6 separate regions of the Homo sapiens genome follow, and all the other regions are linked to region 5. Evidence: promoter capture Hi-C in 16 types of primary human blood cells and fetal thymus (Javierre and others, 2016). All regions are on one chromosome and are shown on one strand. Each heading gives the region's core, a stretch centred on a gene start or on the middle of the fragment in contact. The rest is flanking DNA. Distances are from core to core; before and after follow the strand shown.

Region 1 (4,478 bases), core at 1,629-4,128, 210 kb after region 5:
GGGATTTGGTGATTTTGAATCTGATCTCTTAATGTGTATTCACATCAGAACACAAGAATATGCTGCGTTTGTTTGTATGTTTGTTTGAAAGATTATAGTTTGAAATACTCTGCTGTATCTATAAAGGAAATCCAAGTTAAACTACCTGAACAGTAGTGATTTTGTTAACCTTCCCTGTATCTGACAGTGTGCTGGGTGACAGAAGACCCCTCAGGAGCCCCCAGCTCTACCCCAGCCTCCACCACTCTCCACCACTTATTAGGTGGGTGGACCAGGACAGTCATTTAACCTCTCTGAGCTTCATCTCCTCATCTTCAAAGTATGATAATGAATACTAATTATGTCACCAAGTGGCTGCAAGTTTTAAATATAATGCTGAATGGGTTTTTGTTGTTGTTTTTTGTTTTTTTGCTGGGGGGCTAGGGACTGGCATATAGGTCCTCAATAAATATTAGGTTTGTTTTCCTTTTCTTTTCAAACTCCTTTTGGGTTTAAGTTTCTGTGGTATTATGATGTCTGTCTATCTGTCTGTCTATCTATCTATCTATCTATCTATCTATCTATCTATCTATCTATCTATCTTGGTTTTCTTCCATGGTTCCTGGCTCATAACTCCCATAGCCCTTGTTACAGTCTTTTGTTATGTTAGGTATGTTAGGCTTCAGGAAACCGAATCTCTCTGGCCTTCTGCCCTCCTTTCACCTGCTTTAAGGCAGGACTCTAATCTTCCCCCGCCTTTCTTTCTTTTTTTTTTTCTTTAAGATGGAGTTTTGCTCTTGTTGCCCAGGCTGGAGTGCAATGGCTCGATCTTGGCTCACCGCAACCTCCGCCTCCCGGGTTCAAGCGATTCTCCTGCCTCAGCCTCCCTAGAAGCTGGGATTATAGGCATGTGCCACCACGCCCGGCTAATTTTGTATTTTTAATAGAGATGGGGTTTCTCCATGTTGGTCAGGCTGGTCTCAAACTCCCGACCTCAGGTGATCCGCCCACCTCGGCCTCCCAAGGCGTGAGCTGGGATTACAGGCGTGAGCCACCGTGCCCAGCCGCTTCCCCCGCCTTTCTGATTATAGGTCTTAAGACCCTCCCAAGAGAGGGTCCTCCCCTATACCCTGGGGGAAGCAATGCTGACATCACGAAGCTTCCATAAAAGCCCAAGAGGACTGGATTCGGGGAGCTTCGGGATAGCTGAACACGTGGAGGTTACTGAAGAGTGGTGCATCCAGGGAAGGCATGGAAGCCCCACGCCCCTTCCTCCACACCTCATCCTACGTGTCTCTTTATCTGCATCCATTGCAGTATCCTTTATAATAGACCAGTAAATGTGTTTCTCTGAGTTCTATGAACCACTTTAGCAAATTAGCTGAACCCAAAGAGGGTGTCGTGGGAACTCAACTTGAAGCCAGTCATTCCAAAATTCTGGAGGCCTAGACTTACAACTGGTGTTTAAAGGTGAGGAGGCAGTCTTGGGGACTGAGCCCTCCACTTGTGGGATCTGATACTCCAGGTAGATAGTGTCGGAATTGAATTGGAGGACACCCAGGTGCGGTCCACTGCTCAGTGTGTGGGGAAAACCCCACACACATCTGGTCACCAAATTATTCTCCTGTGTTGATGATTGCTGTTGTGTAAGAGTAGAGGAAAAATACGGTTTGAGGGAGGTTTTTTTTTCCCCACACAGTTTCAAACAAGGATATTGGACCAGATGACCAACATTAAAATCTCTCTCATCCTTAATATTGCATGAAGCTGTTCAGACAGTGGTTGGAGCAATGATTTCTCTTAGACCACTACATTGATTACTTTTCTCTTTGTCATCTTCTCACTCCCCCCGTTTTCTTTCTGTTCTCCTTTCTGTTAACAAGAGTGGAAATCACTTCTATTCATGTACCTCCTCCCAACCCCACCCCCAAACTGACTACTCCATCCATCCAACTCACTGTTTTAGCTACATCTAATTTATAAAATTAGATGGCTAATGAGATGTCATAGCCTAAAATCGACTAAGAAATTGATTTTCTTTCTGTATTATTGTACCCAGACAACACCCTGCTTCCTCAGTTTAGAATGTTGGGCCACCACGGTTCCTGACTGGATACCACGAGCTAGGTCCTACAAGGGAGAGAGCTGTTTCTGGCTTAAATGATGAGAACTAGGGCAGAGAGTAAAGGATAGCCAGCCACAGCTAAGGAATGCAGTCAGTTAGAAGCCAAAGTCCCCGTGTAGTGTTCCTCTTTTCTACTGTGCCCATAGCGGACACTGATTGAATGCATTTTGTTCTATCGTATTCAGTTCCACAGTGCTTTGCAACACCCATCTTATAAATAGAAGTTGGGCTGAGGATGGGGCCAAAGTTAGGGGTGGTAGTTCATAAACACGTAGTTTTTGAGCACTAATTTTAAGTAAGACCCTGATATTAAGAAATAAGGGGGATTAAAAGATGGGAAATTAGGCCCACCAATACATGTTTTTCTATTTCCCAATATATCAAAATATTATCATTTTAACATGCAATCACTAAAAATTAATGAGCTAGTTAACATTCTTCGGACTCTTTGGTACCTAGGTGTATTTCACACTTACAGCACGTGCACGATTCAACTCGAACTAGCTACCTTTGGAGTGCTCCTTAGCCACACAAGAACAGCGTTGTTGTCAAGATGCCAGACCTTTGATTTGTGGCCCTCCGGGGTTGCAGGCGTTAACCTGGGGCCAGCATGGGTCGCGGGTGGGACAGTCGGTCCGGGGACTGGGCGGTGGGAGCACTTAAACCCCGCCCTGCGGAGTCGCCGGGAGTTGTAGTCGGAGCCCCGGGAGTCCGATGGGAGTTGCAGGCCTCAGCCCCGGGGAGCACGCCGGGAGTTGTAGTCCGCCCCCGCCACCCTCTTGGTGTGCGCGTCATGGCCGTCAGCACCGCGTTCCCGTCCTCTTCCGCTTGGCCCCAGAAAGTTTCGGTTCTGCCCGGCGGTGGACCCACGAGCGCGTAAGTGCCGCGGAAGACCGGCTGGACTCTGGGGGCACCTGGGTCGCTCACGATCCCTGAGGCGAGAGCTTCGCTCGGGGCGCGGCTTGTCACCTGTTGCCCTTACAGTCCCCGCCCATCCCAGGTCTCCCTCAGACCCTGCCCGAGCGCCCCCGTCCTTGCCCAGCGGGCCGGGAAGCACCTCGGGCAGGTGGAAGCCGGCCCAGGCACCCAGCCTGCCTCTGTTGGTCGGTTAGAAAGACAGACCCCAAACACCAGTTCCAAGACCCCGGAGGGCGGAGGGCCCGCAAAGGAAAGGAGCCCACCATGCGGCGTCTCAGAACAAGCCTGAATGTCTTAGCGCAGGATGGGGCAGGCCCCGGAGTTCCTGCCTGCGTGGTCTTTAGGAAGTTTAGTCTCTGGCCCAGTTGGGCCGGGACAGCCCAGACCTTCACTTTGCAAGACTCCGCTGGTGCTCGGATCTCTGCCCTCTTCCCAGGAGGGGAAGAAGCTTCTTTCTTCCTGGCCCATCCTTTGGCCAAGACCTATTCACTATCCACTGCCCCTTGTGCCCATGCGCAGGGTCTCGAGCTAGCCCCCAGGGGTCTTTTCCCGAAACACCTGTTGTCTCTGGTGTGGCGGCACTGCACTGGACTGGAGTCCGTGCTGTTGAAACCTGGCGGGGGTGGGGCGGGGAGGGGGGAGGATGGCGGGATTTTATTTTTTGTAAGAAAAGCACATGTGGTTGACACGTTAACCGCGTGGCCCCCTGTTAAAGCACATGTATTCTCTGATGTCCCTGTCACTCTTCACTGTTCCCATTGGGTGTCCTCTCCAGAAAAAAAAATAGAACACTTGTTGAAACTGCCTGTGTTGGCCAGAGCCTCTCAGCCCCTCTGCTTGTCTTACCACAGCAGTTTCCTTTCCCGACAGAGAAATGGGTCAGGGGCTTTTGCGGGGCAGAGGATCCAGGGCTTAATCTGCTCACTGGTTCTCCTGCCCGTGCAGGCCTTGTGGTCTCAGGCTGCAAGCTTAATTCCCCTGCCATCTGCCTAATGCGGCTGGAGGGTGTTGGGGGCTGGTGTGGGGGAGGGGTGGGGAGCTGGAGCTATCATGCCAAGGTTTTCTGCTTTCAGTAGTTCCCACCTTCTGAAGTGGACCCCTGTTGAGTGAGCTCCACTTGACCCTCCCTTCTGTGACAACCACTGTTCTGAAAGCATTGAATGCCCCATACTAGTTGTGCACCGTGGTTATTATCACCCTGAAAATAAGAGCTAATTGTCACAGTGATGGATCTCAGCCTCCTTTGATTAATAGGATCTCTCCTAAAGGCTCTTGCTTTAGGAAATAGAGTTTATCTGTTTATGTTCAAAGTGACTATCTTTGTGTAGCACTTCATTTACTTTTTAAATTGTTTTTAATATTTTATTAGAAAAATAAACATACAGAATCACTGAAAGGATTGTATGGTGAATATCCGTATACTCAATTCTTAATATTTTACTTTGATTTTTTTTTT
Region 2 (4,678 bases), core at 344-2,843, 170 kb before region 5:
CAGTAAGGAACAGACAACATGGCACCAGCCAGGTATAGACCCCGTCTGCGTAATAAAAGATTAGGATGGGATGGCCAGCTTCTTTGTATGCTATGTAAACATCACACCTGGTCTGACCAATCTCTCGGGTCCTAAGTAAATCAGACACCACTTCCTCAAGCTCGTCTATAAAATGCCTTGCATTTCACCACAAAACAGGAAGATCCACTCAGGTGCCCCTCTCTCTGTGCAGGCAAGAGAGCTATTCTTTTTTCTCTTTCTTTTGCCTATTAAACCTCTGCTCTTAAACTCACTTCTTGTGTGCCTGAGTCCTTGATTCCCTTGGCGTGAGACCACAAACCTCAGGTATTCACCCCAGACAATGATGCCACTTCAACAGTACTTTTCAAACTTTGCCTTTTTGCTTGCTTTTCTCTCTAAATAGTGAATTTCATAAGGACAGGGACTCTCTTTCATGGCATGAGTTGGCATCTGGCACATAGCTGGCCCTCCTTCAATGTTTGCTGAATCAATGAATGAATGCTGAATGTTGAGCTGCAGATGGTTAGTGCACAACTGAACTAGAGGGGAAGTAAGAACCCCCTTAGGGGTTTCTTTTGTTTCTGTTTCTGCTTGAAGGAGGACAGAAGCTCTGCCCAGTTTCCTCTCCTTCTCAGAGGACGGCTGGAGGAAACACTTCCCATCCCTCTCTTACCCCTGGCCATCCCTGGCCTCCACAGTAGGAGAGTGGCGGTGGGGTTTATTGGTTGCTCTCCTTTGCATAGGCACAGCTGAGGATGAGGGCCCCGGAAGTAGACTGAGGCGCGTGGTATGAAATCCTACTTGTTTCCTGTGCCTAAGCCACCCCTGCCCATGGGGCTTTGCCAGAACTTCTCATTGGGTTTTGCTTACCTAGCTCTTAACACGTTAATTCCTACTTGCTCTTCCTTGAGTGTAAGCTTCTGTCAGAGTCCAGAAGGAAGGGGTGGGGAATTGGCCTGCTGCCCTCACTCTCTCAGTTTGCTTTGAGCTATGGAGTCTACATCTGACCAGAATTATTGGTAGCAGGTTAATCCACCCTAAAAGGCTTTCAAAAGGAGCTACAGAAGACCAAGCAAATTGAACACAGTGCCATAAAGTTGTGAGGCCCTTTCCATCCATTACTTACAAAATCATGCTGTTGATTTCATACCCATGAGCCCCTGGCTGACTCTGGTCGGCCAGTGCTTCTCTCTCACTGCAGAGAGTGAGCTGGATTGCCCGCTATGTCTAAGTGCACTGTTTGGGGGAGCACATCCTAATCTGAAGAAGAAATAGCCATTATTAGCAAATTATTAAAGTGGCTAACTGTTACCAGAGCTTTTATGTGCCAGGCACTGTGTTAAGCCCTCAACATGCAATTTCTCATTTATCCTCTGAACAAACCTGTAAGGCAGATACTATTATTAGCCCCAATTACAGATTAGAAAGCTGAGGCTTGGAAACAGTAAGCAACTTGCATAGTAATTCAAATCTAGGAAACACTGATGCCAAAGTTCAAATTATATTAATATTTATTATTTATAATATGCCAGACTCACACTGTCTCCTACAGTAGCCATTGGCCACATTTAAATTAAATCATGGAAAACATTCAGTTCCTCAGTCACACTGGCCACATTTCACCCTGGCCTGGTGGCTACCATTTTGGATGATGCAGATACAAAGCATTCCCGTCATTACAAAAAAATTATATTGGATCTCCCTGGTCTAGATAATTTATACCCCAACACAACCCTGTCAGGTTGCTATTAGTAATGAAGCAGCATCATTTGTATGGGGTAATACACAAGGTTCGTTGCCTCATGCCAAGGAAATCAAGGATGCTAACACATGAGCAGTGAGTTTAAGAGCGGAAGTGTAATAGGCAAAAGAGAAAAGGTCTCTCGTGCAGGAGGGGGTTCCGAGTGGATCTCCCAGTTTCACGGTAAAATGCATGGGGTTTTATAGACTAACTTGAGGAGGCGGTGTCTGATTTACACAGGGCCCAAAAGACTGGTTGGACCAGGTATGCCATTTACATAGCACGGGAAGAAGCTGGCCATCTCACCCTAATCTTTTATTATGCAGAAGGGTTCTCTACCTGGCCCGTGCCATGTTGCCTGTTCCTTTACTGTACACTTGGTTGACAAAGAAAAGGGAAGATGGAGAATCCATGTTGAACATGCCTGGCCCCCAGATAGCCTTTTCCTATTGGCACAGCTGCCGGCATTCACCCGTGCAAGCTTCCAGCTTGCTTATCTATGTCTGCAGCTCAATTTTACAGGCTTCTCTTTGTTAGCAAACAAATGATTTTGGGGCTGCTTTTTGTTAAAAGGCAAATCTTACCGAGGACTCTCTGACCCTCACTAACCACCTAAATAATTTCTTTTTAGCTCCTGTATCAGTAACACCCCAAATTACTACTGGAAATCCTTTTAGATCCTGAGAGCCAGAGACGTTAAGTCACTTGCCCAAGCTCCCACAGCCCCAAGGCTGGAACTCGAGTCAGTCTGACTTTCAAGTCCCTGCCCTCTTCTCTGCTGGGCTCTGCTTTTTGGCACAGGAAGATTGAGTTAGCCAATCAACAGAGTCCTTATTTGATTATATGTCAGGAAACCATTAGGATTCTCCTAAAAAGGATTTTTGAATAGTCTTTGGTAATGGCAGTAAACCTAAGTAGAGGAATTTTAAAGTGAACATAGACAATATTGAAATTCTCCCATTAGTTTCTTATTTTTAATCTTAATTACATTTTATTATATTCAGCGGTATGCAGTTTCAAAAGGAGGAATTGTCTTGACTCAAAACCAAAAAGATTAAGTTATCAGATATCTGCTCTTCAGTAAATAGTAGGAGGTGTTTGTGTGTGTGTACATGTGTTTAAACCATATGCCAGGATGTATAAGAGTTGACAATTTAAATCTAAATTCTAATTCTCTGCAGAATTATCATTGCCTGATCAGGGCTGGCATGAGTTCCCAGTTCTTCAGGAATAATGCTTTCATGGAAAGAGTTAAGAAGGATGGCTCACTGCAGGGATAAGGAAATGGGGGGAGAAGAATCCTTTAGCCACATAAGCAAAATCTATATTTATTTGAGAAACATCTCAGACAGGCCCTTTTCTATACAAGAGACTTCTTCTCTATTGAATTTGAAGTTGCCAAGCTCAGCATGGGCGCCAGACATCCCACTTCTGTTTACTTTTCACTTGGAAAGGAAGGGTGAAAACATAACCCAAAACCAAAAATGAAAGTGAAATACTTGGAGCCTCAAATACAGATCTTTGGTATTGCCAATGAAGTCTAGATTCACATGCTTTAAAAAAACCAGCTTGGGGAATGTTCTGTTATGAAAGTTGAGACTCTTCCTGGTGCACATGCCACCCCAGGCCAGGCAAAGTCTTGCTCAGACAACAGCCCTTGCTGTCAGTCCAACAGGCTTTAGGCAGTATTTCTCAGACTTGGCTACACTTAGAATCACCTGGGGAGCTTCTACAGTGGGGAACCACAGGGCAGCAATGCAGGCAGATCGAATCAGAACTATTTGAGGTTGGATTTAACCTCACTATTTGTAAAACTCCCTGAGTGACTCCAATATGTTGGCTTTTGTGAATTTATTAGCACACAGGTGCTGATCGTGAAGGGAGTCACGAGTGCTCCTACTTTCCCTACTCAAAGGCTCATCGCTGGCGTGCCACTGGGAAGCACCATCAAAACATGCCGCTGTTGGAGCCCACTCCAGACCCACGACATCAGAGTCTCTGGGGCTTAGGGCAGGCAATGCTCTTCATTTATAAAGCAAAGGGGTTGGGCTCACTGGTCCTCAACAACCTTTTTGTTTTCAAACCATAGGATTCCATAAGAGGGTTTGATGTAAACGAGGTGATAATGTAACTGAGTATTCCCTTTTTTCTAAGTAAAAGGGAATAAGTTACAATTATTTTTTAAATTATTTTCTCTTTTCTCCTTTCCTCTTGTACCCCACTTTCTACTTAGCCCTTTAGAAATGCAAATCTCACCTTTTACTTCCCCTTCACCAGACATTCTTTACAGGGCAAGTTCATCTAACTATATGCTCCAAGACAGAACTTTCTAGAGAGTTAACAGCTGATTTACAGACCAAAGCATGATCTCCATGGAACTCTCACCCTTCAGGGGGTTGCCATGGAACTCACCCTCCAGAAAGGCAGGTTGAAGGCATGCCCACTATCCACTCCCACCTAGAGAGTTTTAGGCCACTTTTTCAACTTATTTCTGCCTATGAAAGTGCCAATTCAACTGCCTGGATAGATCAGGCACCATGCCAGTGTGCAGACCCCCTGCCCTTGCTCACTTCCTCCCCTGCCTTTTCAAAGTGCCTGCTTTCTGCTCCAAAAGCAAAGCAGTGCATTTACTATTTATTTATTTATTTATTTATTTATTTATTTATTTATTTTGAGACAGAGTCTCACTCTGTCACCCAGGCTGGAGTGCAGTGGCTAGATGTCAGCTCACTGCAACTTCCACCTCCCAGGTTCAAGCGATTCTCCTGCCTCAGCCTCCCGAGTAGCTGGGATTACAAGCACCCGCCACCACGTCTGGCTAATTTTTTGTATTTTTAGTAGAGGCAGGGGTTTCACTATATTGGCCAGGCCGGTCTTGAACTCCTGACCTTAAGTGATCTGCCCTCCTCGGTCTCC
Region 3 (4,649 bases), core at 1,540-4,039, 230 kb after region 5:
GCCCTGGGTGGTGGACAGACAAGGGTGAACAAGAAATGTGCCCAGTCAACAAGCATTGTAAAGTATCTGTGAGCTCTCAGGACATTTCAACACTCCCTGACTTGGAGTTATATCTCATGGATACTTACATACCCTTTTATGTTTCAGAGGTGCTTTGTATCACTGACCACTTGCTCCTCATGCTTCCTGGATTATTTCTGCTTCTCTGTCTGAGTTTAGTCACTATCTGGTTACATGTTCCTATTTGTTGTCTTAAAGATGCTGTGACAGAACTAAGCAAAGAATTTCAGGAAGCAGGGGAACCCATCACGGATGACAGCACCAGCTTGCATAAATTTTCTTATAAACTTGAGTATCTCCTGCAAGTAAGTGATGCCTGTAATGTGTTGATTTTTGCACTGGTATCTCTTTTCTCCCTCTTGGGTGACTCATCAGCATTCAAGATATGGTTCAGAAAGCCCAAGGAGCCAGTAAGCCCTCGTGGTTAGATTGAAGGTCAGAGCAGTCCCCAGTGCCAGCTCAATCCTCCAAGTGTGATCCTTTGGGGAATTGCAATGTTGCCCCTTAGGATGGCTTTGAGAATCAAGAACATCCTTTAGAGATTTAGGTCATTGTAAGGTAGGTCAGAAGGTTACTGTATGGCAAAGATCTTAACTTTGGGACAGTTACATACCCCTTTGGGAGTTTAGTGAAAGCTATAGAGTCTTCCCAAAAAGACATTCGTGTATGTATACACACAATCACGCATTTTTGCAGGCAGATTCTAAGAGTGTGTGGACCCTCTAAAGATTATCCATGGGCTTCTGTTTTAGAGCTTTGCTACTCAATGTGCAGTCCATAGACCAGCAGCATCAGCATCCTCTGGGAGCTTATTTGTAGTATATTCTTGGCTCCCACCCCAACCTACTGAATCAGAATCTCTGGGGTCAGCCCAGGATATTTTCTTTTAACATATTGATGGTATAACTCTTATCCCTGCTTAGCCCAAAAAGTGCTGATGTAAAAAACACTGCAGATGTGGAAAAATGCATGCAACTAAAATAGGCAGGAAAGAAATGCTGTAGAAGTTATTTTAGGGTAGTGGTATTAGGTGTTAAATTTTTTTCTATTTTTGTGTTTTGTTTTATCTAGATATCCTAATAACATACGCATATCTTGCTTCTGTAATCAGAAAAAAAATGCTATAAAATGTTATAGAAAGATATACCTGTGTCATTGTGAACACCATTATTTTGCAACGTCACATCCCACCAAAGCACGTAGTATGCGGGCCCACTAGAGGAAAGGCCCCTAACGTGCTGAAGGGCTTGCCTCTCTCATGACATTTCAGCTGGTTCTTTAACATTGTAAAAATGTTTTTGAGCCTTTCTTTTTTTCAATTAAGCCCATTTTGGTTTTGGGTTTGAAATGACTCAGAGCTGACATTTATTTAAATTTATTGTAGGTGTATTAAAACGATATTGAAACTGAAGTGTTGAGTAACTGGGATAAAAGGTCATTATCTTATTTCCCTAAGTCGAAGCATAGTTAACACTCTTCATATTGCCCTTAAGACTCTTTTCTTTTTCTTTTTTTTTTTTTCTTTGAGACAGAGTTTCACTCTTGTTGCCCAGGCTGGAGTGCAGTGGTGCAACCTTGGCTCACTGCTACCTCTGCCTCCTGGGTTCAAGTGATTCTCCTGCCTCAGCCTCTTGAGTAGCTGGGATCACAGGCGCCCGCCACCACACCCAGCTAATTTTTGTATTTTTAGTAGAGATGGGGTTTCACCATGTTGGCCAGGCTGGTCTTGGACCCCTGACCTCAGGTGATCCACCCACCTCAGCCTCCCAAAGTGCTGGATTACCAGCGTGAGCCACCGCACATGGCCAAGACTCTTTTCTTGTATTTCTTTCTCATCCGTTAATAACACCTTCGGTGGTTTTCCACCCAGCTGTATGAACAGGGTATTAACACACCTTGATTTGCCAATAAATAAAAATAATGCCAATAAAGGGCCTCACCCAGTGCTGGCACCTAAGAAGCTATTGTTATTATTTATCATTTAAATGCCGGAATGAAGAGCAGTGGGTTTGGACCTCCTCTCCCTTTCCCTTTCCCTACCCAGTTTGATCAGAAAGAGAAGGCCACCCTCCTGGGCAACAAGAAGGACTACTGGGATTACTTCTGTGCCTGCCTGGCCAAGGTGAAAGGAGCCAATGATGGGATCCGCTTTGTCAAGTCTATCTCAGAGGTAAGCTGAGCAAGCAGCCAACAACTTCATGTCGTCCTTTTGCCTGCTTAAAGCAGCTCTTGCAGAGACCTTTGCTGCAGACAGCTAAATAAGGAAGTGGGAGTTTATGGGTGGTAAAGAAATCTAGTCCAGGTATACGCAATGCCCATTGTTGCAGTGGCTCAAGGTTGGGGAAACCACTTCAGTGAGTGTTTATCAAGGGGAAGAATGCTGAGTCCTGAATGTACCTTAGGCCACAACCCGCATGTTACTTAACAGGGTGGCCTATTCACATACATTGTAGTCTGCTAATGGCAGCCCTTGAGATGTAAAGCATAGGATGACTCCATCTTTTTAAAAAACTCATTTTCTGAGATAAAATTCTTTAGAGTTTGCTATGCTGCTTTCCCTACACTTTGCCCAGGAAACTTAGATTTGAAATAAGAATGATGTGGGATCTCAAGAGACATTTCTTAAAACAGTGATGTGCCAACTTTCTACTTTAAATTCTGCGCCCCTCAAGAGCAAAATGCCATGGCTTTGCTGTTTTACAAAACTCCAGAACAGGCCGGGCGCGGTGGCTCACGCCTGTAATCCCAGCACTTTGGGAGGCCGAGGCGGGCAGATCACGAGGTCAGGAGATCGAGACCATCCTGGCTAACACAGTGAAACCCCGTCTCTACTAAAAAACACACAAAAAAATTAGCCAGGCGTGGTGGCGGGCGCCTGTAGTCCCAGCTACGCGGGAGGCTGAGGCAGGAGAATGGCGTGAACCCGGGAGGCGGAGCTTGCAGTGAGCCGAGATCGCGCCACTGCACTCCAGCCTGGGCGACAGAGCGAGACTCCGTCTCAAAAAAAAAAAAAAAACTCCAGAACAACAAACACACACACATACTTCACATACACACTCACACTCTCCTTTCTGTTTATTTTCCACCCTCAACCCCCAGAGAATCTTTCTTCTCTCTCCTCAGCCTATTCCATCCAGGAGTGCAGAACTTTGCATATCAGGGAGCAGGTAAACCCCTTGATTTGAGACAGGAGGTTTGTACATTTCTTCTTTCTTTTCAGTAAGTGTGAAGTCAGTTTAAAGTCAACACACCTGCTGCTTGGCTGGCTGCCCACAAATACCACAGCCTAAGGTATTCTGGGAAGGGCTCCTCACCAAACACGCCAGCTGGAGCTAAATGACTTTCTTCTTATAGAGAATGATGGTGTTAGATATGCTGACATCAATGGCTGGACATTTCCCACCATTTGCACTCTCTGACATCTGAGACGATGAGGAAGGATCCTGGCTCTAAAGGGCTGGTTCTGCGAGTTTCTTTAATGTCCATGTTAGTGTGGATGAGTCTTGTGAGGTCTGGTGGGATACTTGGGTCCATGAAGTAGAGCAGTATTTTAATTTTAGTGCATCATAAATGTGGAAGAGGTTCTCTTTGTCACTCTCCTCTCTTCATTCCTCAGCCGCTGCATCAGAGCAACTAAAGCCTTTAACTTTATGACTTTGGACAGTTGAAGTCTGGAAATAAATTTAGTTTTAGTCCGCATTCCCCAGGATTATGAAATGCTTGCTAAAACACATCTACTTTTTGGCTAGTTTCTTCTTCTTTTCTCATAATGCAAACAGATCTTTAGACAGTCTGAAGCCATGAAAATTGACTTTCTAGAAGCAAAAAACATTCCTTGCTTGCATGAATGTTGGTGTTTTAGTGGCTGGCATAGGCTCTGCTTCCCATAGGGTCCAGTTTCATCTCTGTTGAAGACTGCTCTCTGGGGCATCATTGGTTGGAATGGCTTGGAACATCCCTAGGCTAAGTGAGTTGCTGGTTACTTGGTTAATTTTAATAATCAAGTAGCCATCTGGGTCTTTAACTGAGAGGGCAAGAGTTAATGGATAAGAAGCATTTGTAGGTTCCCTCAGACCCCTTTGAGGTAGGCGGTAGCTATTTAGGCTAAAATAGGTGAAGGTTCTAAGAAACCATTTCTGGAGATTCAGTATGGGCTCAGCTTGGACTGTGTTTCACTGTGATGAGGGTGTAGCTCGGCATCGGGCTCTTGGCACAATGACCTGGTTTAAAGCAGAATCAGCTCTCCTGTACCCTGCAGATTTCCTGTCCTTTGCTGCCATTGTATTGCTTCTCTGGATAGTGTATGTGGGTTCTGATTAGAAGCTAAAAAAAATTAAGGAATTAGTTAATGAAAGTGGATCCATAATCTCAAAACATAAAAAGGCCATGCAGCATTTTGATTTGCAGTACAAAGGAACTATTGTTCCCTTCCCCCTAAAAATACCTTTTAAAATAAATAGTTCCCTTTATATATATATATATATATATATATATATATATATATATATATATATATATATATATTTAATTCAGTTAATGGGCCTGATTAAAAGTATAGCCTCAAATGTTTGCCATTAAAAAAGTTTTGA
Region 4 (4,878 bases), core at 535-3,034, 250 kb after region 5:
TCCTCTTTGGCCATCTCTATGGGTGATCGCCAGCCAGTGATTCTGAAATGGGTGGGAGCAGGGGTGGCACTGGATCCACAGTCTTCAGAGCAGTGACTTGTTCAGGTGAATCCTGCTCCCTGCCACCCCTACCTTCAGTGTTACCCTGGGAATTCTGGTACCTGCCACTTGCCAACCACCACAACTAGTTGCAGTTGAGGCCCCACAAATATAGAGCAGAGGTTCATGGCCTCTTGAACTTAATAGGAAACAACCCTCCATTTAGAAGTGACCCAGCCAGATGGGGTGGATGGCACACCAGCCACTTTATGGTACGTTGCATGGCCTTCTGCAAGCTGAGTGTCTTCTCCCTGACGTCCTGTGCCAGGCCACCCAAGCAGACATGGGAGAGAAGCTGAGCTGCACTAGCAACCATCTTGCAGAGTGCCAGGCGGCCATGCTGAGGAAGGACAAGGAGGGGGCTGCCCTGCGTGAAGACCTAGAAAGGTTAGTCACAGTCCACCTACGTAGCTGTCGGTAGTCTTCAGGGAAGGAGTGTTTGGTCTCGTCATTTAGAAAGTCAGTCACTCATATTAGGTTTAGGAAGTCCTTTTGCAAGAAAAGCCACAAACTCAGAAAGTGCTTCTGCTGGAAGCATGCCACAGAGAACCTGGTTGCCTGCCCATCACAACCTATACACGGCTAAAGCACCTTTCTCCTAACTCAATTTTCTTCTCTCTGGCAGTGCATATCATACTTCAGTAACTGCAAGCTTTGGAAAAACTAAAATGAAATAAAAGTTAGATCATAATAATAATGGTAATAGTAGCAGCATGTATTTAAATAATGCTGAAAACGTGGCCGACTCTGTTTTGAATACTTTGCATACATTTACCCATTTAATCCTCCTAACAGTCCTATGAGGAAGGTGTTATCATCTATCCCCATTTTATGGATGAGGAAGATGAGTGTGCCAAGGACCAGGATCAGCCTGTCTTTGTGCAGACTCTGATGCCATATCTGTGGATAGCAGATCACGCTGCCACCCAAGGCCTCCTTGACCCCCTCATTTTCAGGCTTGGGGCCATGTGGAGTTGTGAGCCTAAGTCCACCATGTGGTCATGGGACACAGCTAGTTGAGCCAGGACCTGATTAAGAAAAGATGTAACAGGGAGGAAGACCTGATTTTAAAAAGGTGTAGCAGGGAGGAGGAGTTGCTGGAATCGAATTGCATGTGTGCCACCAGCAAAGATAAGCACACCAAATTGTCCCAAGTCTCTAACTTTTCTATTTATCTATTACCTCTTCCCAACACCTGCCTTCTAGGCCTGGGCTCTGGCTCAGTAGGAGATCCAGGATATCTTTGACATTTGGTAACCTGGACATACATTTTTCATCTTACCCTTCTAGTGTTCAGATCCTACAGGGCACTGGCTGCCCTTAGTTAAGTCATGTTCATATGACAATTTAAACAGAGTCTGAGTTGGTGGCATGAAAACATGATAAACAGTGGTTTTTTGTAAGATCTCAGAGCATTTGTTTCAGTTGCTCAAAGCTGTACAGTCTATTTGCCAACTTATTTTATTCAGTGTGTGTGTGTGGTGTGTGTGTGTGCAAGCACACACATATGCTGCCTGTGTGTGTGGGTGCACCTATAAGGCCATTTTGGTGGACAGGGTCTACTAAACAACTTCCTGGCAACTTTATACTAGATGTGGAAGGTGTAAAGTAATCAGTCTCTCTGCAGAACCCTTTGTTTAATGGAGCTTTTATTATGTCCCACTGGACCATCCTTGGAAAACCACTGCCTTAGGAAATAGCTGCATTAAAAATGGAGTGGGTGGGGTGAGGAAGACAGCGAGATTCAGCCAGCTCCCTCTGCTATAGACTGAGACACCCTGCAGCACCCAAAACGGAATTCCCTGGGCCTCAGGGGGGCTATCAGGTAGAACAGCTGGCAGTGCAGATTAAGACTGAGTGCCTGCTGTGGGCCCAGGGCCATGCCCCATGTGTAGAGTCCCAAGGACGTGTGGAAGACAGGCCCTCCTCTGTGTGGCCACCTCCAGGAAGCTACACCTCTGTCCTGCCTGTCCTGACTCCTTTCTCCTCCTGCCCATCCTCCCCATCACCAGCCCATGAGCCTTGCCTATCAGGCTTCTCTTGCAAGCCCAGCCCCTGTCCAGGAGCCAAGGGGTGCAGAGTTCTATTCACTTAGGGTGCTTCTGGCAACCTGGGGTCAGCCTGCTTTCCCTCCCAGAATGCCCCTTTGTATGTGGGGGTGAGAGGAGAGTCTCAAAAGCTAGGGGACTGCATAAGCTGTGAGCAGATACCAAGGGGCTCCCCCATGGCGGAGGGCAGTAGCACCCCTCATTAGAGTCCTGGGTGAGCTTAGAGCCCTGGGAAAGCTGGAAGTCCTGGCTAATCAAGAAAACTTACCACTCCTCCCCCAGGACCCAGAAGGAACTCGAAAAAGCCACAACAAAAATCCAAGAGTATTACAACAAACTCTGCCAGGAGGTGACAAATCGTGAGAGGAATGACCAGAAGATGCTTGCTGACCTGGATGACCTCAACAGAACCAAGAAGTATCTCGAGGAGCGGCTGATAGAGCTGCTCAGGTGAGTGCTGTGTCAAACCAGCAGCTGGGGTTTTCCCCACACTGGGGTTTTTCTCTAAAGAAATGCAGCTGTTCTTGAAAGCATACTTCAGAAATTTCCCCACTTTCTTGCTGCTGTCTCAGGAGCCCCTCTCTCCTTCTCCATCTCACTTTCCCCAGTACTAGAGTCCCAAACTCCAGCGCCTGCAGGTACCAGGCAGCTGATACAAGTGGAAGCTTGTATCAGGAGGGGACTGTGAGAAACTGAGGACACAGCTGGGCTCTGCTTCTGCCATATGTCTTGGCCTAGAACTGCCAGACCACCTTACTTCTTGAGAGAAGGTGGAAACCTGGATCTTAATGTGAAGTGTCCTGATTTTTTAATGCTGACAAGTCATTCAAAACTTATTTTAACTTTTCCTTATGGAAATTTTCAAATATACAAAAATGGAATCATGTAATACACCTCCAGGTACCTGTCACCCAGCTTCAACAGTGTTCAGCTCAGGGCCAGTCTTGATTCATCTGTAGACCCACCTGCTTACCCACCTTCCCAGATTATTTTGAAGCAAATCCCAGACATATCATTTCATCCATAAATATTTCAATATGTACCTCTCCAAGGTAAGGACTCTTTTATTTTCTATTTTTTGAATTTTTTTTTTTTTTGAGACAGAGTCTCACTCTGTTGCCCAGGCTTGAGTACAGTGGCGTGATCTTGGCTCACTGCAACCTCTTCCTCCTGCATTCAAGCGATTCTTGTGCCTCAGCCACCCAAGTAGCTGGGATTACAGGCACACACCACCACTCCCAGCTAATTTTTATATTTTTAGTAGAAATAGGCTTCACCATGTTGGCCAGGCTGGTTCTGAATTCCTGGCCCCAAATGATTTGCCTGCCTCAGCCTCCCAAGTCCTGGGAGTACAGGCATGAGCCACCATGCCTGGTGCCAGAACCCTCCATTTTAAACAACCACAGTGTCCTTATTACACCTTAAAAAATGAAGTATAATTTCTTAATATCATCAAGTGTCTAGTCAGTTTCAAATTTTTCCGATTGCCTTAGAATATTTTCAGGTCGTTCTAATCAGGATCTAAATTAGATTCATCTATTGCAATTGCTGTGTCTCTTACATCCCTTTTAGTCAATGGGTTTCCCTATCATCTCTCTACTTTTGCCGATTGCATCCCCATGGTGTCATTTAACATGATCATCCATCCCTTGCATTTCCTGTGAGTCCATAGTTAGAACTATTGCAGTGGTTCTCAATCCTGGCTACATATTAGAATCACTAGGAAAGTAATTTAAAAATGCCCATGTCCAGGCCCCACCAAGACTAACCGAATTGGAATTTCTGGGAGTGAGACTCAGACACCAGTGAGCCAGAGCTGAGAACCATCATTCTACTGGCAGCTTGCTTAGACTCAGGTTCAAAATTTTGGTAAGAAGCCTTCATAGAATTGGTTTGTAGTTTGGGGTCTTTCCTTCAAGAGGCACATACAATCTGATTAGCCCTGTTTTTGTGATGTTAGCAGCACCATGGATCAGCAAAGCCTAGATATGCTAATTCATTAAGTGTTAGAAAACAGTGATATTAAAATTATAACCAATTTGAAAGTTTAAAAACTCTGCCTTCTTATCATCAATATACAGAGTTAGAACTCAGGGTATTTGTGACCTGAGGGGTGTGATGGAAAACACCAGCTCCTGGCAGCATTCCACATTCCCAAAGTTTGGGTGGACCAGCCTAGAGAATGAGGCTGCTTCAGAGAATGAGTCTTCCTGCTTCCTGACAATTTCAAGTGTCCTTGAAAAAGCCAGCCAAGCCCATGTTCAAGCTTTTTTATTTAAGGCAAAAGATCTGGGGTTGATTGGGAGTTCCTGGTCAGTGATGGAGCCTGTCTCTCTCAGGACCTGAGTGGCTCGGGTGTCACATTACCGGTGGCTGAGGTGCTGCTAGAGCCACGTTAGCCCTGAGGATGCTAGCTGGGGCTCCATACGAGAAAGAACTAAACTTCACATGTCAGAAACCATCAAGCCTGAACATGCTCATTAGTATCCCTGAGGAAGCCTCTGTTCACATCCTCCCCCTCCAGTGCATCAGGCACATTCTGACACTGCCAGACCTTTCTGGAAAGCCTCACACTTCTTTGAGTCTGGCTTCTTGGAGTGACCTTACCATCTCTCTGAGGGGCAGAGGAGGCTAACATCTGATCAGATTTTCACACTAGGAAATCTTTGATCTTCTCCACTGATTAATTGTTACTTGGATCAACCATAGAAACATAAAGGGCCCCAAGCAC
Region 5 (4,598 bases), core at 1,003-3,502:
GGCTTCCACTGCAACCTCTCTGGGGCAAAGGAAGCTGCCCACATCTCCCCCTTCTCTCCAAGGAAGAGGAACATTGATGTGGATCAAGGACAATACGGCAACCTTGAGAGAACACTACAGCTTTTAAGGAGAGGAGTCAAAGGGCTTTTAAGAGAAATGAATGGAGCAAGGTCATCCCTCTTTGCTGGTTTCTCTCTTGTCTCTCTGTGCTGCCCCCATTGTACACATCTGCTGTGGTGAGAGGGGTGTGTGCACTAAGGGGTTTGCAAGGCCATAGGAGACCTGAGTGTGGGTGTGGGAGGGGAGACAGAGCAGGCAACTGAGCAGCCTCTTGTTTAGGCCTTGAGCTAAAGAGAGAAAGAAGGCTTCCTAGCTCATAGCTGGTCCAGCCTAACTCTTCTGAAGAAAGATCACATGGGACTCTGAGCCAAAAGCATTGAGAAAATCTAGATCCATGCCCCCCAAATTTAAGCATGCATCAGAATCATGCCAGTCTTTGTCAAAACCTGGATTGCTTGGCCGCATCCCCAGGATTTCTGAGTCAGTATATCTGGCATGTAACCCCAGAACTTGCATGGCTAGCAATGTCCCAGGGAATGTGAATGCTGCTGGTCCAGGGACCTCACTTTGAGAACCACTGCTCTAAAGGACTTCCTCACCCCTTCCCACCCTCGATGCACCCTTCCTTAGCCCAGGGTATTTCCCAGGCCACTACAAAAGCTGTTCCTCATTGTGGTAACTTGGTTAATTGTTTGTGATCCTTCCTAAGCTATAAGCTCTCAAAGAATGGATCCAGCCTCTTTCTTCACCACTATATCCCAAGCACCTAACACAATGTCCGGCACATTGTGAGTACTGAATAAATATTTGTTCAATGAACAAGCAGATTTGCCTGGTACATCCCCTCTGTGGAATGAAACCTAGAGCAGAGCTGGAAGCCTGGTCAAGGATGAGGTACTGACCATGTCCCTTACTTTAGACAGGATCAAGGAAAAGGCAGGCCTCACAAGCCTCTGTTCTCTTTGGAAACTGATCCACCAGCAAAGTACTGCAAATAGCCAGGCACATGCAGACCCCCATTTATTTCTTTGGGGTGAAGCTGAGTGATGATCAGATGTCAAGCTTAGGCCATCTTGTCTGAATTCTTCATTTTACAGATAAGAAAACTGAACCATGAAGAGACAAGTGATCTTTTCAAAGCACATTCACACTGATGATTTCTGAAACAGTGCTTTGTAGCAATGCCGTGAGGAAGGTTAGGGGTGTCCCCACTTTATAGAAGACACAAGGGCAGAGGCAGAGTAGGTGTTGGCAGTTGTGAGGAGAGTCACAGTACTCATCATTTGTCAGACATTTTTCACTGTGCCAGGCACTCTGACATTTTTCATGTACAAGTTGACTTCGTGCTTCTCCTCTGAGGTAAGCATTCAATACTCCCATTTAGCAGAGTAGGAACCAAGACTTAGAAAGGTGAGTGATCTGCCCATGTCACAGGTGGAGAGCTGGGATTTGAACTTGGCCCATGTTTGACCATCACGTAAAACAGGAATGGGGCATCAGAAAGGGAAGGTCAAAATGTAACCAACAGACCTATATTCCCTTCATGCTGGAGGTTCCTGGGGCAAAGCCACTCTCTGAGGTTTGGTGGGGAGGGACTTGGGGAGCAGAGAGCAGAGGGACAATGAGCTCCCAGAAGCCGAGGGGCATAGGGTGCCAAAGAGAAGCTGCTGCCTCTGTGAGCACCCATGTCAGTTAGTTTTGAGGAACAGGACTCAGGGTTCCAGTTTAAATCCTTCCATTCACAATCTTTAAGAAGAAGAAAAAAAAGAAGTCTGCCGCTGACCACAAGAGCTCTATGCCCTGCCCCCATCCCACATACACACATCCCACACTTCAATTGCTCCAAACATTCTGGGAACATCTCACTGCCACCCACCTCACCCAACTCAGCTTCACCTGCCCCCAATTCCCTTAAGGCTGAGCTCCCAGGGCCAAGACTCAAGAGGCTCAGAGTGAGCAGAGAAAATCCTCGCAGTTAACTTGGCTTCCAGGAAGTGGCCACTGGTGGGCGTTGTGGCCATTCATGAGCACCAAACCACACAAAAAGAAGAACTTTGTCCCTTTCTTGTCATTTTGAAAGACTGTGAAACTGGAGCCAATTCTCCATCATCACACAGGAAGCTGAGTACTTCCTACTTGGTCAGGATCTTGAAACTTGAATTCATAAAAACCCAGAAAGCCCCAGAAACAAAGACTTCACGGACAAAGTCCCTTGGAACCAGAGTAAGTGTCACTTGTCTTTTCTGTCTTATCTGTTACTGTGGAGGGCAGTGTTGTTCAAAGACATGCATGCAGCTAGGGGCTCCTCAAAGGTAGGGGGAATTCTTTGAGTAGGCTGGGCAAATGTCTAAGTAGCCCATGGATGCATCTCCAAGGCAATTAATACTGTAGCAATACTGAGAATGGTGGATTTATAAAGCTGGGTGCTCAGATGAAATATAGGCTTTTTTGCTAAAAAGGAAGCTTACTTGAAGGATTGGCTTTTGGTTACTGATTAAGAAAGTCAGTCAGTACTAAGGGACAAAAGGTGTTTTCTGTGGAAACCTATTCAATAAGAAATTACTTGGCGGGGCGCAGTGGCTCACGGCTGTAATCCCAGCACTTTGGGAGACCGAGGCAGGTGGATCATGAGGTCAAGAGATGGAGACAATCCTGGCCATATGGTGAAACCCTGTCTCTACTAAAAATAAAAATTAGCCGGGCATGGTGGCGCATGCCTGTAGTCCCAGCTACTCAAGAGGCTGAGGCAGGAGAATCACTCGAATCCGGGAGGTGGAGGTTGCAGTGAGCTGAGATTGCACCACTACACTCCAGCCTGGCGACAGAGCAAGAGTCTGTCTGAAAAAAAAAAAAAAATTGCTTGCCAAATTCCCCCATGTAAAGGAAAACCAAACATGGTGTATGAAGAAATTATAGCAAGAGGGAAATATTAGCTAGAAAAATCTTGGCAGATGCAAGGATGATTTGATACTGAACCTATCTCTTAAGAAGACTAGAACCAAGGATCCTCAAAATTGGCACTGCTATCTTTGGAAGAGGTAGGCTTTCACTCACCCAAAGGCAAGGAGCTGGCCAGGTGATCTTGGGGGGCATCTGTTCTGCTCTACTAACAAAGACACAGGTCAGGATTTTGTTCTGAAGATAGAGGGGCATGGTGGCTCCGTATAGGTATCTACTTCATAGGTGGTCTTGGTGGGTCCCAGATTTCAAAGAAGAGATGGAAACTCCCAAAAGTTTGCACAACCTGGCACCAGGCTATGTGCCACTCACTGATCCTTTAGTTCCCGCACCGAGCAGTGGGACAGTGCTGGACTGTTCAGAATGTGGGGCCTGGGCAGTGATGTGCTGGTAAATGTTCAACAACTGACTCTTCTGAAGAAAAGATCCCTGCTTTATAACATTTGTTGATTTTCATGGTATAAATGCCCCCACTGTGGTCAGTTTCAAGCTACCAACATGCTGAATGTGGAGTGGGGAAGAGATGCACGCAATTGGCATTTATAAACCAGTATAAGCCAGCCAGCGCACCATAGGCCTGGGTGTCTTTCACCATCACAGACTGCTCTATCTCTGCTCAGAGACTTCACCAACTCCCAGGCTGGAGGACACTAGCAGTGGAGGGTCCAGGATCCAGGGCTATAGCTGACCACTGTGCAGTGGCCTTGAGGCAGACTTCTGCAGTAGACTACAGCAGGGCTGGCAGATTAGATGACAACATGGTCCTTTGGTTTCTCTTCTCGGGCCCCACCCCAGATCACCTCCCTTTAGGAACAGCATGCCTTGGAGTGGTTGCCTGGGGCTTAACAAGTTGGGGAAATAACAAATGGGTTGGAGGTAGGGGGTGTATGGAGGTGACTCGGTTTAAAATGCCACCTGACAATGTTGACTCAACTTGCCTTTGCCTTTGCCAAACCTTCCCAGAAACTGGACTCATGGGATCAGGCTTGCACTAGCTGCTCTTTGTGCTTTCCAAGCTATTTGCATACTTCCACTGTTAACCTGCCAGCCCACCGAAAAGTGCTGACTATCAAACCGAACTGTCTGCCCTCATCAGCAATGGCTGTGGCTGCAGAAATTAGAAACTGCCAACACAGCTTTGTTAGTGACCGTTAGCCTGACTCTCTCCAGAAAGAGGGCTGATTGGATCTCTCTGGAGATGGAGGAGTGGGCCAGGGGATGGGTTTGATAAAAAATTAAAGCTCCTCACTTCTCACCCTAATAGAGTATCTCCCTTTCCAGCCAGGGTGCCCTATACCCTCCATGTGCCTTAATTTCCTTTACAATGGCTATTGAAAAAAATGTGAATTGTGTAAGCAGGAAACATTCCTTAAGGAGAGTAGAAGGAAGAACACCAGAGACCCAGGTTTAAGATAGAAATTATAAAGTAGGTGCCACCTACTTTACTGATTGGCATTTGGGTCAAATCAATTTAGATTGGCGGCAATAGATTGACAATTTCAAATGTCATTCACATGGAAGGGACCATCATTGTCCACCGTTATCAAGAAAAATCACTTTCTAGATTAACTACAAAGAAA
Region 6 (5,036 bases), core at 993-3,492, 190 kb after region 5:
CCACTACTCACCACCGATGGGAGAAACAGCATAAGGAAGAGATAATGAGGTAGTTTGTGGTATCAGAGCTAAGCCTATGGGCTTCTAGTTGGCCTAATCTTTCAAACACAGTTTCACACTGATTCTTAACATTTTGTTCAACTTTTACTCAGAGGGCAGGCTGAGCCAGGGAGCAAAAAGGCAAAGGACTCCTACTCACATACCCACTTAGCAAAACCAAAGCACCTTGGGCTTTGAACCCACCCTTCTTAGAAGGCAGGTTTGGGGGTTGAGGCCCCTTGAGAAGCTCACTTCACCCTCTCCCCATGCCATCCCATTCCTACCCATCCCAAGATGCTTCTCTTGTATTTCTTTCAGCACATCCAGCCATCTCCCTGGGAGCGTTTCATATCTGACTCTTTATACTTCCAGTGATGTTTTGGCATCCCTAATAGACTGGCTCCCAAGGCAGTCTTTAATCAGGAGTCTTCCCCTAATCTAGCTCCTCAAGAACCCAAGGGAAGAGGCACAAAGAGAAGTATGAATAGGAAGATAGAAGGGTAACCCAGTCAGAGAGGGAGTGGCAGATGACACTGCTGAAAAGGAGTTTCCAGAGAGTTGCACACCATGAGCCACGCTGTCTGTCCCTGACCACAACCTCCACTGGCCACCACCTCCTGGGCTTCCCCTCCCTCCACCCACAGAAACCATTGCTCAATCTCAACTGGACTCTTGCAGGCCTATCTCTCCCTCCAAACAGAGATGTCCTGGACACAGAGCTGCAGACCTCTAACCACTCCTGGAACATAAAAAAACCCACGGTGGTTCTACAGCATTTACACCTCCAGTTTCCCTCAGACAGAATCCAGAAGAGAAGAACCTCGCTGATCTCTGAGCGGAGCATGTCTCCAAGCTCAGGCCAGCCCCAGAACTCCAATGGCCTCAACTGGAGTGGAAATCCCTCAAAGGCACAAACCCAGTTCCTACCATCTCCCTCAGTGCCTGGCAATGTTTGTGGTTGGTTGAGTGAGTTAACAGGAGACCATCTTTTGGCCTTTTTTCTACCTCTGTTTTCTCTTACTATACTTGCCTACATCTCATCTTCTGGTCAACACCAGGTACTCACCCCATGAGCTTCTTGTGAACTTGTCTGGGGCCCACCGGCCTAAACATCATCTTTTTTGTTTGGAATTAAGCTTTGTTGAACTTTTCACAGGTTTCATTTATGCAAATGCCTGTGATGGGACAAAAAGGTCTGCAAACATGGAAACCTGGTCTAAAGATGTCCAAAGTAAACTGTCTGTGGAGTCGAATGACATTTGAGCCCTGGACCTAAACTCCAAATCCAAGCTCTTTCCCACTGTGACCTTGGGCCTCTCAAGGCTCAGTTTCCTCACCTATAAACTGTAGAGAAGCCAATAACAGACTCATCCACACTATGAGGCTGTGCATAAGGTCATGTATGTAAAACTACTTGCTTTGTTGATCATTCTGTCCCAGATAAGTATGAATTATTATGCATCATTTCATTAAACAAGAAAGCTTCACTGTGTTAATATGCACAAGTAAAAGATTAGCATGTATTGTCTTACCTTTGGCTGGCTGTCTTAGTCAGTTCGGGCTGCTATGACAAATACCATAAACTGAGTGGCAAACACTCAGCCCATAGCATTGATTATGTCCCCTCATTTCTACCAAGAGCATATAGGTTCTTAAAAGTCTTCTACTTATGGAAGATCTGGGTTAGGGATTCAGGATTGGAGAACAAAGTGTGGAAAAAGGCCTGTGTGAGTCAGGGTGGTGGGAAACTGGCTCAATTTAGACCTTAGGTGAAATTGTCCAGGAGACCAAGTCTATCTTGAATGCTCTGTGACTCAATTTCCTATCCCCATTTCTCCCCTGGCTTGACACCCAAGTCTTCTGTCTCCAAGTCCAAGGCTTTTATTTTCTGTATTATAAAATATTTGGGTCTGAACAGGGACCGTTCAGAAATACAGTCCTACAATCAGAAGGTATGATACTATTATTGGCTGGAAATTTCAGGCATGCTGAAAACTTGGTGGGAGATACTTGGGGGTTTCAGGGAAGATTGGGAAGGGTAAGAGGGATTATCCTAACTCTTCACCAACTTATTCTGAGCACAGAGCTTTGCTCTCTACCTTAAGGCCAGCCCAGATCATAGATGTGGGGTTGCTGCAACCGTCCCCCGACATGTCCACTGGCCCCTCCACAAAAGGAAGTGAGACCAGAGGGACCAAAGAAAAACAAAGGAAGCCTGGTTCCTTGACTTTGACCATGTCAGAAAATCAGCGTTGAGCATCATTCATGGTTAGAAAGAAGAACTGGACAGTTGGATGGTTGCAGGAGTGAGAAGGGAGAGAAGGGTGTGAGACAATGGCATGCAAACCTCCAGGCAACCCCTGGCTACTTTTTTGGAGTATTTTCCCAATGCAAGAGCAGAGCAAAGCCCATGTTGTGGAGAGTGAGACCACAAAGATGAATTGGCCCCACTCTCAAGTTGGCCACCCTCTAGTCATACCCATTTGAAGAAAAGTTCCCATAGGATTACTCCAGGCCCAAGAAATTCCTGTTCCTTTTCCCAGACCACCTTGCTGACCTCTCTTGACTGAAAGAAAATGACCTGGCTTATTGTCCACACAACTGGGGATGCTCACTTTAAATGTATTATTAAAGCTCTTCCAAGGCACTTTGCAATGAACTGTGGGAATGTGGGGTAGGAGGTACCCACCTTTACCTGCTCCCACCCTCAACTTTGGTTGCAATTGGTTCAACGATATGCCAATATACAGTTTCCCAATAGTAAGGTTAAATTGGGGGGCGGGGGTGGGGGAGGAAGAACCACTGGGCCCTGCTAATTTATCAAAGAATCTTCTGTTTACTTCAAAATTAGAGAAAAAAATACAAATCAGGCCCACTTTTCTGGCTGGGTCTTTAGCAAGTCACTTCCCCTCCTTTGAAGCTTATTTCTTCATCTTAACTAGAGAGGTTTGCACTCAGATCTATTCTTATGCTTAAAAACAAAGTCTATAGGTCTAAAATTTCATGGCTTACATTTTGATGAAGTTCTTCAGGGGATACAAATCTGTAGCTTAGGGCAGGTTACAGGTTGAATTGTGTCATCCTCTGCCCCCAGATTCATATGTTCAACTCCTAACCCACAGTCTCCCTGAATAACCCACAGTCTCCCTGAATATGACCTTATTTGGAAATAGGATTATTGCAGATCATATAAAATGAGATTATGCTGAGGTAAGGTGAGTTTATAATTCAATATGGCTGGTGTCCTTGCAAAAAGGGTAAATTTGGGCACAGACACAGGAGAATGTCATGTGAAGACTAGAGTTATGCTGCCACAAGCCAAAAAACACCAAAGACTGCCAGCAAGCGACCAGAAGCAAGGAGAAAGGCATGGAGCAGATTCTCCCTTACAGCCCCAGAAGGAATGAACCTGACACCTAGATCTCAGACTTCCAGTCTCCAGAACTGTGAGACAGTATATTTCTCTCGTTCGAGCCACCCAGTCATGGAACTTGGTTAATGGCAGCCGGAGCAAATTAATACAGGACACAAATTTCAGTGTGTGGGAGCGGAATCCCAGTGCACCTCCAAACCTTCCATGATGTTCCAGTGTCTCCTGCACCTACACAGAAGGCTACACCTAACTGAAGACATGCAGAGGAGATTGGAAGCTAGTGTTTACTGAGACCTACTATGTATTAGGTCCATACATTTTCACGTCTCACAGCTACCTTACGAGGTTTCTGTTTTCTCCAGTTTGACTAAGGAGGATACAAGGGACCAGAATAGGTCACACTCCAACATCCAAGGCTACATGTCAGATCACACGCGGAGCTTAAAAAATACTAATGTTGGCCGGGCGCAGTGGCTCATGCCTGTAATCCCAGCACTTTGGGAGGCCGAGGCAGGTAGATCATGAAGTCAAGAGATCGAGACCATCCTGGTCAACATGGTGAAACCCCGTCTCTACTAAAAATACAAAAATTAATTGGGCGTGGTGGTGCACGCCTGTAGTCCCAGCTACTCGGGAGGCTGAGGCGGAGGTTGCAATGAGCTGAGATTGCGCCACTGCACTACAGCCTGGCAACAGAGCAAGACTCTGTCTCAAAAAACAAAAACAAGCAAACAAAAAAAACACTAATGTCTGAGTTTCTACCCCAAAGGTTCTGATGCAATTGTTCTAGGGTGCAACCTGGCCTCAGGATGTTTTTAAAGTCTCCTGGTGGTTCTAATGTACAGCCATGTTTGACAATCACTGATCTAGTGTCTTTATTTATTCAATCATTCACTCAATGAATATTTATTGAGCAACTACTGGGTGCTAGAAACTGTGCTATATCCCTTGCACACATTATGCCACATTCTCACAATTTTACAAGGTAGGCATTGTCACTACCCAGATGAGAAAAGGGGGGCTTGGAGAGATAAATGACTTTCTTAAGTTAAAGCCAAACTCAGGTCTGTATTGTACCCAAACACCTACTCTTTCCATCACATCTTGCCAATTTCCCAAATGATATGCCCATCAGGACTCTTAACCATAAGCAACAGAAATTGCCTCTAGTTGCCACGGCAGAAGAAAATGTGTGGAAAAGATACTGCATGTGATTTCATTGTAATTGCATCAGAGATGCGGCAGGGTACAGTGTCATGATGTCTGCAACTACATCACAAATGATTCGGCAAAAAATTAAAAAAAGAAAAATGTGTGTAATTATACATTAAAATTGGAGAGAAATGACATATAGAAGAGGTTATACTCAAAGAAAGAGAAAAGCTGCTGGGTAGCTCACAAAACTGGTGGGAAGGCAGGAGAAACAGCTAGAACAAAGGGAGGTGGTCTCTGGCACAACAACCGCAGGAGCCAGAGGTTACAGTGACTCTAGAAAGACTTCTCCCACCTGCATTACAAAAAACAGGTACACGAGGCTCACAGAGTGAGCCAAGGCCACACACCCACACTCTGGCCTCAAGGGAGCTGGGAAAGAGCGCCCAGGCTTCCTTATCTCCTACAGAAG

What was found. The method cuts DNA at HindIII sites, captures the fragments that hold promoters and counts their contacts. A CHiCAGO score of 5 or more calls a contact.
Region 1: the fragment with the promoter of FYCO1 here is called in contact with the fragment with the promoter of CCR1 in region 5 in 3 of 17 cell types (neutrophils, monocytes and total CD8 T cells); the score reaches 16.8 in neutrophils.
Region 2: a fragment that was not itself captured here is called in contact with the fragment with the promoter of CCR1 in region 5 in 5 of 17 cell types (M1 macrophages, M0 macrophages, megakaryocytes and 2 more); the score reaches 11.2 in M1 macrophages.
Region 3: a fragment that was not itself captured here is called in contact with the fragment with the promoter of CCR1 in region 5 in 1 of 17 cell types (neutrophils); the score reaches 8.4 in neutrophils.
Region 4: a fragment that was not itself captured here is called in contact with the fragment with the promoter of CCR1 in region 5 in 2 of 17 cell types (neutrophils and naive B cells); the score reaches 6.7 in neutrophils.
Region 6: a fragment that was not itself captured here is called in contact with the fragment with the promoter of CCR1 in region 5 in 1 of 17 cell types (monocytes); the score reaches 6.0 in monocytes.

The regions. Positions count from the first base shown.
Region 1 is chr3:45,994,224-45,998,701 of GRCh38, reverse strand. It overlaps FYCO1 (FYVE and coiled-coil domain autophagy adaptor 1), which reads left to right and starts at 2,878. Exons shown (of 18, transcript NM_024513.4): 1 at 2,878-2,980. LOC105377063 (a long non-coding RNA gene) reads right to left here and starts at 2,799. Exons shown (of 3, transcript XR_940799.3): 1 at 2,613-2,799. RefSeq lists enhancers at 2,850-3,009, 3,030-3,079, 2,580-3,079. The HindIII fragment of the contact is 2,332 bases long and covers 1,141-3,472 here.
Region 2 is chr3:46,379,654-46,384,331 of GRCh38, reverse strand. The region is part of intron 2 of CCR5AS (CCR5 antisense RNA); the gene reads left to right. Among named protein-coding and RNA genes, the nearest start is that of CCR5, 11 kb to the right of the region's middle. RefSeq lists an enhancer at 3,604-4,105. The HindIII fragment of the contact is 1,305 bases long and covers 941-2,245 here.
Region 3 is chr3:45,977,286-45,981,934 of GRCh38, reverse strand. It overlaps FYCO1 (FYVE and coiled-coil domain autophagy adaptor 1), which reads left to right. Exons shown (of 18, transcript NM_024513.4): 3 at 259-365; 4 at 2,105-2,230. Among named protein-coding and RNA genes, the nearest start is that of FYCO1, 16 kb to the left of the region's middle. The HindIII fragment of the contact is 5,743 bases long and covers 1-4,649 here.
Region 4 is chr3:45,959,944-45,964,821 of GRCh38, reverse strand. It overlaps FYCO1 (FYVE and coiled-coil domain autophagy adaptor 1), which reads left to right. Exons shown (of 18, transcript NM_024513.4): 10 at 368-486; 11 at 2,430-2,597. Among named protein-coding and RNA genes, the nearest start is that of CXCR6, 19 kb to the right of the region's middle. RefSeq lists an enhancer at 2,675-2,864. The HindIII fragment of the contact is 2,061 bases long and covers 754-2,814 here.
Region 5 is chr3:46,205,967-46,210,564 of GRCh38, reverse strand. It overlaps CCR1 (C-C motif chemokine receptor 1), which reads left to right and starts at 2,252. Exons shown (of 2, transcript NM_001295.3): 1 at 2,252-2,283. The HindIII fragment of the contact is 1,401 bases long and covers 1,125-2,525 here.
Region 6 is chr3:46,013,521-46,018,556 of GRCh38, reverse strand. XCR1 (X-C motif chemokine receptor 1) reads left to right here. Exons shown (of 2, transcript NM_001024644.2): 2 at 1-1,550. Among named protein-coding and RNA genes, the nearest start is that of XCR1, 11 kb to the left of the region's middle. The HindIII fragment of the contact is 1,438 bases long and covers 1,524-2,961 here.